2 separate regions of the Homo sapiens genome follow, and region 2 is linked to region 1. Evidence: promoter capture Hi-C in 16 types of primary human blood cells and fetal thymus (Javierre and others, 2016). All regions are on one chromosome and are shown on one strand. The core of a region is centred on a gene start or on the middle of the fragment in contact, and the rest is flanking DNA. Distances in the headings are between cores, read along the strand shown. Region 1 holds the start of UTP25 (UTP25 small subunit processome component). Region 2 overlaps HSD11B1 (hydroxysteroid 11-beta dehydrogenase 1).

Region 1 (4,500 bases), core at 895-3,394:
TTAGGTTAAATTTTCACAAAGGATCCCTTTTTATGTTGTCAAAGGATAATATAAATATTTTTAGGACAAAAAGGGCTTCTTTTTCCATGACCCAGTGAGCCAATGATGAGACTGCTTGGGTGGGGCTAGGGTAAATTTTTACCTGAACCTGAGAACCGTCTAGACCTGTACACAAGACCACAAGGGTGTGGAAACCGGGAGAGTAAGAGTCACCTCAAGTGCTTGAGAATATAGCTTTCATAGAAGATCTCTGGAAGAACACCAAGAAAGTGGCTGCCTCTGGGGAGGGAAACTGGGGCACTTGGGATATGTTGGGAGGGGGAAAAAGGATGGCTCTTTATTGCTATAGCCAAGTTATACTGTGGTCAGCACCTTAAAATATATGATGACATCTTGCAAACAGGCTTTTGTTGACCTAAGTGACTGTACCTTTTATCTTGAAATTACATAGAAGACAAATGGCTATTTATGGGTTCCTTGGCTGGCCCAGCTGCTGGGCACCACCCGCTCTGTTTGCATGTGTTCCTCATATTCTCCGGCCCTGTCCTCCCATCCCCACCCCAGCCTCTCCGAATCTAATTAGGAATAGTAGATGGTCACTAGAACTGACAAGAATCGCATTCTAATGGTTTTATTACAACTTCTATGGTGTGACACAGTATCAGGGAAAACCCAAATTTCCCACAGTAGCACTCCAATAGCAGAGCTATTATTTTGCTTCTCATTTCTCTCATTTTGGACGCTCCTGTTTTACCGTAAATATTCAAGTGAATTCTGCGGCTTATGATTTAAGCACTCTGTTTCTATAGAACATGGTAGCATAAGTTACTATTAGGAAAAGGATCTCACCATCTTTATCCTGTGGTCTCAAGCAGCCCTGCACACTTGCAAATCCCTAGAATACTGAGTCTACTTTTATATTTTTGCTTTTTCCTGTTTATTTAGGTGTTATTTAAATACATTAAAATTCACCCATTTTAACTGTACAGTTTAACTTTTCTTATGTATACAAGGTGTAACTACTAGCATGATCAAAATGTAAGATGGTTCCTTTACCTTCAAAAGCTTTTCCATCCCCTTTTGTCCGAGTTCAGTTATGAGACACTGGATTGGGTTTCACAGCCTTTTCTAGCATTGACTGGGGTGATTTCAGTAAAGTCACTTTACCTCTCTAGATGTGTTTCTGCTGTTGTTAAATGGGGAATGCTGGAACAGATTTGTTTGCGGGGACTCTTCCAATACTTTCAGAAAATGCGAGAATAGGGTGAGGGTGGGAATCTCAGACTTGTGGGCCCCATGATTGATATAACACACACAGGCGGCAGACCCTAATGGGTAAAAGCATGTGGTTGCATCAGTTAAGGTTTTTCTCTCTTCTCTTGCTAGCGTGTTATCTTTTCTTTTCTTTTCTTCTTTTTTTTTTTTTTCGAGATGGAGTCTAGCTTTTGTCGCCCAGGCTGGAGTAGGCTGGAGTGCAGTGGAGTGATCTCGGCTCATTGCAACCTCCACCTCCCGGGTTCCAGCGATTCTCCTGCCTCACCTCCTGAGTAGCTGGGATTACAGGCGCCCGCTACCACGCCCGGCTGATTTTTGTACTTTTAGTAGAGACGGGGTTTCACCATGTTTGGCCATGCTGGTCTCGAACTCCTGACCTCAGGTGATCCGCCCATCTCGGCCTCCCAAAGTGTTGAGATTACAGGCGTGAGCCACCGCGCCCGGCCGCTAGCGTGTTATCTTTTCTAAGCATCAGTTTCCTTATCTGCAACACCAGGCTTATTAACAAGACCTATCTGTACACTGTTGTGGTGATGAAGTGAGATGTTCAGGCACCCTTAAATGTTGGTTGATATTTTTATTGCAGTATACTGTAAAGTCACTGCATTCGACTATCTCCGCTACTACACATTTACGCAGACTGATTTCCATAACCAAAACACAAGCACAAAGCTCATGCCCCCGACTCACGCAACCCGGGAAGCCCAGCTGCCCACGTTCTAGGGCTCTGAGAACACTAGTGAACGAACTCCCGTGCTTTCAAAGAGCTGCGGTAGGGGGCAGAACCGGGAACCGGATGTTCTAAGCCTGTCGTACGAGCGCGACGTAAAGCGGATCTGCTTTATGGCACCTTGCTTTCGCCGTAAAGCGCAGTCAGCGAGCCCACGTGCTTGTGTTGACTGGACAACTTCCTGGTGGAAAACCGCGACTCTTGCAAGTGGGCAAACTTGACGTTTTCGCTATGGGCAAACGCGGGAGCCGGAGCCAGAGCCAGCTACTCAACACCCTAACTAAAAAGCAGAAGAAACATCTTCGAGATTTCGGCGAGGAGCATCCCTTCTATGACAGGTCTGAAGGGGCGTGGCAGGGCTCCCCAGTCGCCAGAGATGTATCCTCGAGTTTGGTCCTCTGGTCTCCCAGATAGTGCTGCTCCGGCCTTTTCCCACTATTCCCTGGCTCCCGCTGTGCTCGGCCGGGGAGATTCTGGCGCCATCCCGCCGGGAGATGGAGTGCTTCACGGGCCTTTTTGTTGAGCCTGTAATTTCCTGCTAAGAGGCACGCCCGTTGTGTGGGGGAGGATTTTTTTTTTTTTTTTAAGACGGTGTTTCGCTCTGTCGCCCAGGCTGGAGTGCAATGGCGCGATCTTGGCTCACTGCAACCTCTGTCTCCTCCCGGGTTCAAGCGATGCTCCTGCCTCAGCCTCCCGTGTAGCTGGGATTACAGGCGCCCGCCACCAAGCCCGGCTGATTTTTTGTATTTTTAGTAGAGATGGGGTTTCACCATGTTGGCCAGGCTGGTCTTGAACTCCTGACCTCAGGTGATCCACCCACCTCGGCCTCCCAAAGTGCTGGGATTACAGGCGTGAGCCACCGCGCCCAGCTATGGGGGCGGATTTTTGTGTGGTCAGAGATCTAGGAATTTTTTGTAGACACACATATATATATGTATATATATAATTTTTTTTTTTTAAGACAGAGTCTCGCTTTGTCGCCCAGGCTGGAGTGCAGTGGCGCGATCTCAGCTCACTGCAACCTCCGTCTCCCGGGCTTAAGCGATTCTCCTGCCTCAGCTTCCCGTGTAGCTGGGATTACAGGCGCCCGCCATCACACCCGATCAATTTTTTGTATTTTTAGTTGAGACGGGGTTTCACCATGTTAGCTAGGGTGGTCTCGAACTACTGACCTCGGGTGATCTGCCCGCCTTGGCCTCCCAAAGTGCTGGAATTACAGGCGTGAACCACCGCGCTTGGCCTGTTTTTATAATTATTTTTAACTTACATAAAATGATTGTACATATTTGTGGGATACAGTGTGATATTTTGATAACAATACATGTACCCAATGTGTAATGATCAAATCCGGGTAATTAGCATATTCATCATCTCAAACATCAATTCTTTGCGTTGGGAACATTGAAAATCCGCTCTTCTAGCCATTTGAAAATATACAATAAATTGTTAGTTATAGTCACATCATATGTTGTGTGTGTTTTTAAAGAATTTGTTGGGACATCATTGATCTTTGCAATTACGATAAGGAACTAAGTGTATTAGTAGTTGTGGTTTCTCTAGAAATGTCTAGGTGCAGTTATGATCTCAATGCTCATCCCACTACTTTGGGCTGCTTTGTCATCAGTTAGGGACATTCTTTTTTTCTTTTCTTTTCTTTTTTCTTTTTTTTGAGGCAGGGTCTCACTTCGTTGCCCAGGTTGGAATCCAGTGCTGCAATCCTGGCTCACTGCAGCCACCACCTCCTGGGCTCAAGCGGTCCTCCTGCCTCAGCCTTCCCAGTAGCCGAGACTACAGGTGCACAACACAACTCCGGGCTAATTTTTCTTATTTTTTTGTAGAGACAGGGTCTCCGTATGTTACCCAGGTTGGTCTCAAACTCCTGGGCTCAAGTGATTCTCCCACCTTGGCCTCCTAAAGTGCTGGGATTCCAGATATGAGCCACCGCTCCCAGCTTAGAGGGACATTCTAATTAAGAAATTTGCTAGAAAAACATGAACCCCGAAATCTTTTATTTAGCCAAGTTGTATCCTTCTTTTGGATGAGAGCCTTGTGTGACTCTAGGGTTTGTCATGTGACCTCCTTAAACTTTTCATTTGTCAGTTATTAACCATATTCTTGCCAGCCCTGCCCAAGTGCATGTGTAATTTTTGCATGACTATATCTAAAATGTATTTATAATGTTATATTCTGCCTTTTTCATTTAACATCTCATTTGACCTTTTCCTAATTTCTACATACTAGTAGTTAGAATGTAACATTGCCTGTTTCTTTTTAGGGTTTCCAGAAAGGAAGCAAAGCCACAGATTTGTCAACTGGTAATGCTTTCTACCTTCTTTTTAATAGTTGGTTTTGGGTTGTTCCCACTAAGATTATATCTAATAATAAAGCTTGATTACATTTCTATTCCTTTTGATTTCAGATGCAAGCTATTATTTTGGCAGTATCACTTAATTTTAAATGCAGATGTCTATAAAAATGCCATTGTGATATCTAAT
Region 2 (4,500 bases), core at 845-3,344, 93 kb before region 1:
TTTGACTCTCCTTTCCATTTTGATTACCAAGGTGGCTGAGTCTCACCACATTCATCACTTAACCCTTTGCTGAACACCTTATGTCCTCATGGACACTCAATGGCCATTACGTTTCTATATGAGACTTATCAAAATACAAGTTTGTGTTTCTTAAAAGCAGCACCAGTAATAAGACACACTGGTATCATGAACTCTTTGATGTGATGTTCTGAGAAGAACACAACATCATTTTGGTGGTGTTCTTGCCAAAATACATGACCCCACTCCAATCATAAGAGAACAATGAACAAAACCAAATCAAGGAACATTTTATAAAACATTTGGTCAGTATTCTTCAAAAGTGTCAAGGCCATCAGAGACAAGGAAAGGCTGAAGAACTGTCACAGATTGGAAGAAAAATGGGAAGAAATTACTACTAAGTGGAATCCTGGATAAGATCCAGGAACATAAAAAGAACATTAGTGAAAAAATAAGGTCTGTAGTTTAGTTAATATATTGTATCAATTCTATTATTATACCTGTCCTAAATCATTGCACAATGGTTATATATGGTGTTGCAACCAGGGGGAGCAGGTGTGGAATATAAGGGGGTACGGCCTACAATTTTTACAACTTTTCTGTTAAGTCCAAATACAAGTTTATCTAAAACATGTGGCAGATATTAAAAGAAAATGCTCTTTGAAGAGTAATTGAGCAACAGTTAGAGAAATAGAGAGAGAGACCGAGACCCAGGGGGAAACAAGAAAGGAATGGAGAGAGAGAGAGAAGTTGTGCAAGATGGACATGAAAACTTGGAAGGGGAGAGAAGTGAAAGTGGTGACAAGGGAGCAAAAGCCTGTATTCTTGTGTATCTCTTCCTTTTACAAGACAGTAAGTCATTATCATACAGCACTCTGGTTTTTCCCACTGGCACTTCCCATTAGCTACTGAGTCATTATGAGACTTCTATCCTCATTCTGCTCCCCCATATTACTTCTCCGCCTCCAACCAAAATACCCAAGAGAGAAGCATGATTCAGATCTCCCAAGTAATCACCTCTAACTGCTCCCACCAATCTCCATCCAGGAAGGCAAGGCCCCTATTAACACTAAGGCCTCTCTTTGCCCAACAGACTCTAACATACCCAGTCTCTCCATGTATTCCCTATAGTGCCTGTGAGGCTTGCAGAGCAAACACTGCCAAAAGCCCCTGACAGCTAAGTGGTTGATGTCTCCAGGCCTTCCATCATGTAGACTGTCCTAGTCAGATAACCCTACTCTTCCCTTGTCATTCTATAGAAACAGCCATGAAGGCAGTTTCTGGGATAGTCCATATGCAAGCAGCTCCAAAGGAGGAATGTGCCCTGGAGATCATCAAAGGGGGAGCTCTGCGCCAAGAAGAAGTGTATTATGACAGCTCACTCTGGACCACTCTTCTGATCAGAAATCCATGCAGGAAGATCCTGGAATTTCTCTACTCAACGAGCTATAATATGGACAGATTCATAAACAAGTAGGAACTCCCTGAGGGCTGGGCATGCTGAGGGATTTTGGGACTGTTCTGTCTCATGTTTATCTGAGCTCTTATCTATGAAGACATCTTCCCAGAGTGTCCCCAGAGACATGCAAGTCATGGGTCACACCTGACAAATGGAAGGAGTTCCTCTAACATTTGCAAAATGGAAATGTAATAATAATGAATGTCATGCACCGCTGCAGCCAGCAGTTGTAAAATTGTTAGTAAACATAGGTATAATTACCAGATAGTTATATTAAATTTATATCTTATATATAATAATATGTGATGATTAATACAATATTAATTATAATAAAGGTCACATAAACTTTATAAATTCATAACTGGTAGCTATAACTTGAGCTTATTCAGGATGGTTTCTTTAAAACCATAAACTGTACAAATGAAATTTTTCAATATTTGTTTCTTATTTTGTGGTCTGAACTCTTTATCTCTTCCTGAGTGGAAGAAATCACCCTAATCTTTGTTTGGTGGGGAATATTGTGTCTTTACCTTTTCTGTGTATTTCTGATATTCTTCATATTATTGCATATTGCTCCTCTGGGAAAGAAGACACCTAGGCATAAGGAACTAGGGCAAACCCAGGAAAATGGAGGTCCCAGAAACTTGAGCCACAGACCCAATGCCCATTTACTGCTCTCAGAGGACATCAAGCATCTGTACTTTACATGTGAACACTAAACTCTGCATTGGAAGTTTGGAGAGGGGGAGTTGGAGTTCAAATCCTGCCACTCACTCATTTAGACATTTACTCATTCAACAAATATTTAGTAAGCACTTATTAGGCATCACCTAACTATGATTAAATGGGAAACAAAACATCAGCATGATGAACAACTCAGCAAAGCCCTATATTGATCAGGGCCCAAGAAGTAAGAGATGACACCCTCAAATTGGGTAATTTTAGTAGCATTTAATAAAAAAAGGGGCAAGGCACAGGGAAATCACAAAAGATAGTGATATCTCAGGGTTAGTTGCAGCTGTTTCCATCGTAAGGCCCACAGGGACAAGAGAAGAGACCTGTTACCAAAACCTCAAGATGTGAAGACCTGTATGGAGAGCACCACATGGCAGGAGCTGTAACATTTAGTTAAGAGATGCAGCCAACCAGCCAGGCGCTGTGGCTCACGCCTGTAATCCTAGCACTTTGGGAAGCTGAGGTGGGTGGATCACGAGGTCAAGAGATTCAGACCATCCTGACCAACATGGGGGAACCCCGTCTCTACTAAAAATGCAAAAATTAGCTAGGTGTGGTGGTGCACACCTGTAGTCCCAGCTACTTGGGAAGCTGAGGCAGGATAATTGCTTGAACCTGGGAGGCAGAGGTTGCAGTGAGCTGAGACTGTGCCACTGCACTCCAGCCTGGCGCCAGAGCGAGACTCCATTTCAAAAAAAAAGAGATGCAGCTAGCCTACCAAGGATTGTGAAGGAGGTGTCTAGGGGAAAAAACACCCTAGCCTCACCTCACGCTCTTCCCTCCCTCTGATCTCTGGCCAGCATTTCACATTAGCTGAACAGAGGGGCAAGGGAGCAGATAGGTATAGACCATACAGGTCAGCTTCCCCATGTACAGAGCAGATGGAAAAGGGTAGAGAGTGTTCTGGAGAAATGAATGGAGTATATCCATCAGGAACCCCAACACTCCCAAACATACAGCTTCCATGGTAAGTAATGCTGGGACATGAGACATGTGCCTAAAAGTGCAGGGGAAATTTTCTTTTCCCACCTCTGAATCTAAATGGCTGGGCAGCAGAACATATTGGAATCTATTGAGCCTGCCAGCCACATGGACAAAGGGCTGGATTTGAGCCTGCTAATGTGGCTGCACTTTTCTTAGAGGTCCTTCCAAGGCTATGCTCAGTGCAAGGGAGCAGGAGAGACCTGGCTGCATCCATGTGCAAAAACAAGACAAAACAAAAAGGGCCAAAAAATGTAGTCTGGTTTCTGACATGAAATGCACCCACACTTGCAACGTGGCTTAATATATGTCCTGGTTTCTGATCAATCAGATTAACACCCTTCAGTCTCTTGTAGAAATGAGACTCCTTCTTCACAGTGAGATGAAGTGAAGTAATTCCTTTACTCAAGGGTAGAGATAATATTAAAGCTGAGTTAGAATTTGCTTGGGGAGAGGTTAAACCTCTTTCTAAATGAGACTTTCTTCAGAATCCAAAGGGGAAGATCTCAAAAAGTAGGTCTGAGAACTGAAACCATCTACACCCACATAGCTTATTGTCTTCATTAACATGATTTTAACATTCCATTCTCTTTATCAGCATGACTTTACTATTCCAAGAAACTCTTGTCCGAGAAGATAAATGTTGCAAGCCCATTTAAAAGTGCTGAATTTTTCAACAGATAGCATCAAATGACTGCTACTCTTTAAGACTGCTTGGAACCCTTAGTTCCAAACCCCAGCTTCATTGTGTTCACCAGTCTCCAGCTATGGCATCACAATCCTTATCCAATTCAAATAAAGTCACCATGCTGAAGTCTCGCCTTAACCTAGACTTCAAAGCCCCATAAAGACCCTGACTTTACCCTCTCCACTCTCAGAGTCTACTAAGACTCCATCAAGACTCCAGCTTTGCCTTATCAACAGGTTGTTTTGGTGGTCTTTTTTAGGGAGCCAACATTCAACAAGTCCTTCCTAAGAGGTCGTCTCAGGGGTCCTCATCCAGTTCCTAACCTGGCTCCCCTGTCCCTTAAATACCTGTCTCATCTCTCAGGACTGGCAGGGGTTCCAGCAGCTGGAGCCAAGTTCCAATTTCAGTGGCACCAGCAGTACAATGACCCTTGTCTTTGGACTAGTTCCACTTAAAAGAACCTAGCCTTCCTAGCTCACTTTATCACGAGCTCAAAAATATACATCCAAGGACGTCCATTTTCACATCCTTACGTGAAATCCAGATGTGCATCACTCACTTCTCGCCCATATTAACACAAAAATTCAGCTTCTCTTTGTAGGTTCCAAAAGTAATTATA

Evidence for each region. The method cuts DNA at HindIII sites, captures the fragments that hold promoters and counts their contacts. A CHiCAGO score of 5 or more calls a contact.
Region 2: a contact is called between a fragment that was not itself captured here and the fragment with the promoter of UTP25 in region 1, in 2 of 17 cell types (neutrophils and non-activated CD4 T cells). The highest score is 11.4, in neutrophils.

The regions. Positions count from the first base shown.
Region 1 is chr1:209,825,828-209,830,327 of GRCh38, forward strand. UTP25 (UTP25 small subunit processome component) reads left to right here and starts at 2,145. Exons shown (of 12, transcript NM_014388.7): 1 at 2,145-2,343; 2 at 4,281-4,320. The coding sequence starts at 2,237. RefSeq lists an enhancer at 2,185-2,234. The HindIII fragment of the contact is 3,327 bases long and covers 1,064-4,390 here.
Region 2 is chr1:209,733,027-209,737,526 of GRCh38, forward strand. HSD11B1 (hydroxysteroid 11-beta dehydrogenase 1) reads left to right here. Exons shown (of 6, transcript NM_005525.4): 6 at 1,278-1,903. The coding sequence ends at 1,495. All of the region lies in intron 1 of HSD11B1-AS1 (HSD11B1 antisense RNA 1), which reads right to left. Among named protein-coding and RNA genes, the nearest start is that of HSD11B1-AS1, 7.3 kb to the right of the region's middle. The HindIII fragment of the contact is 5,840 bases long and covers 1-4,500 here.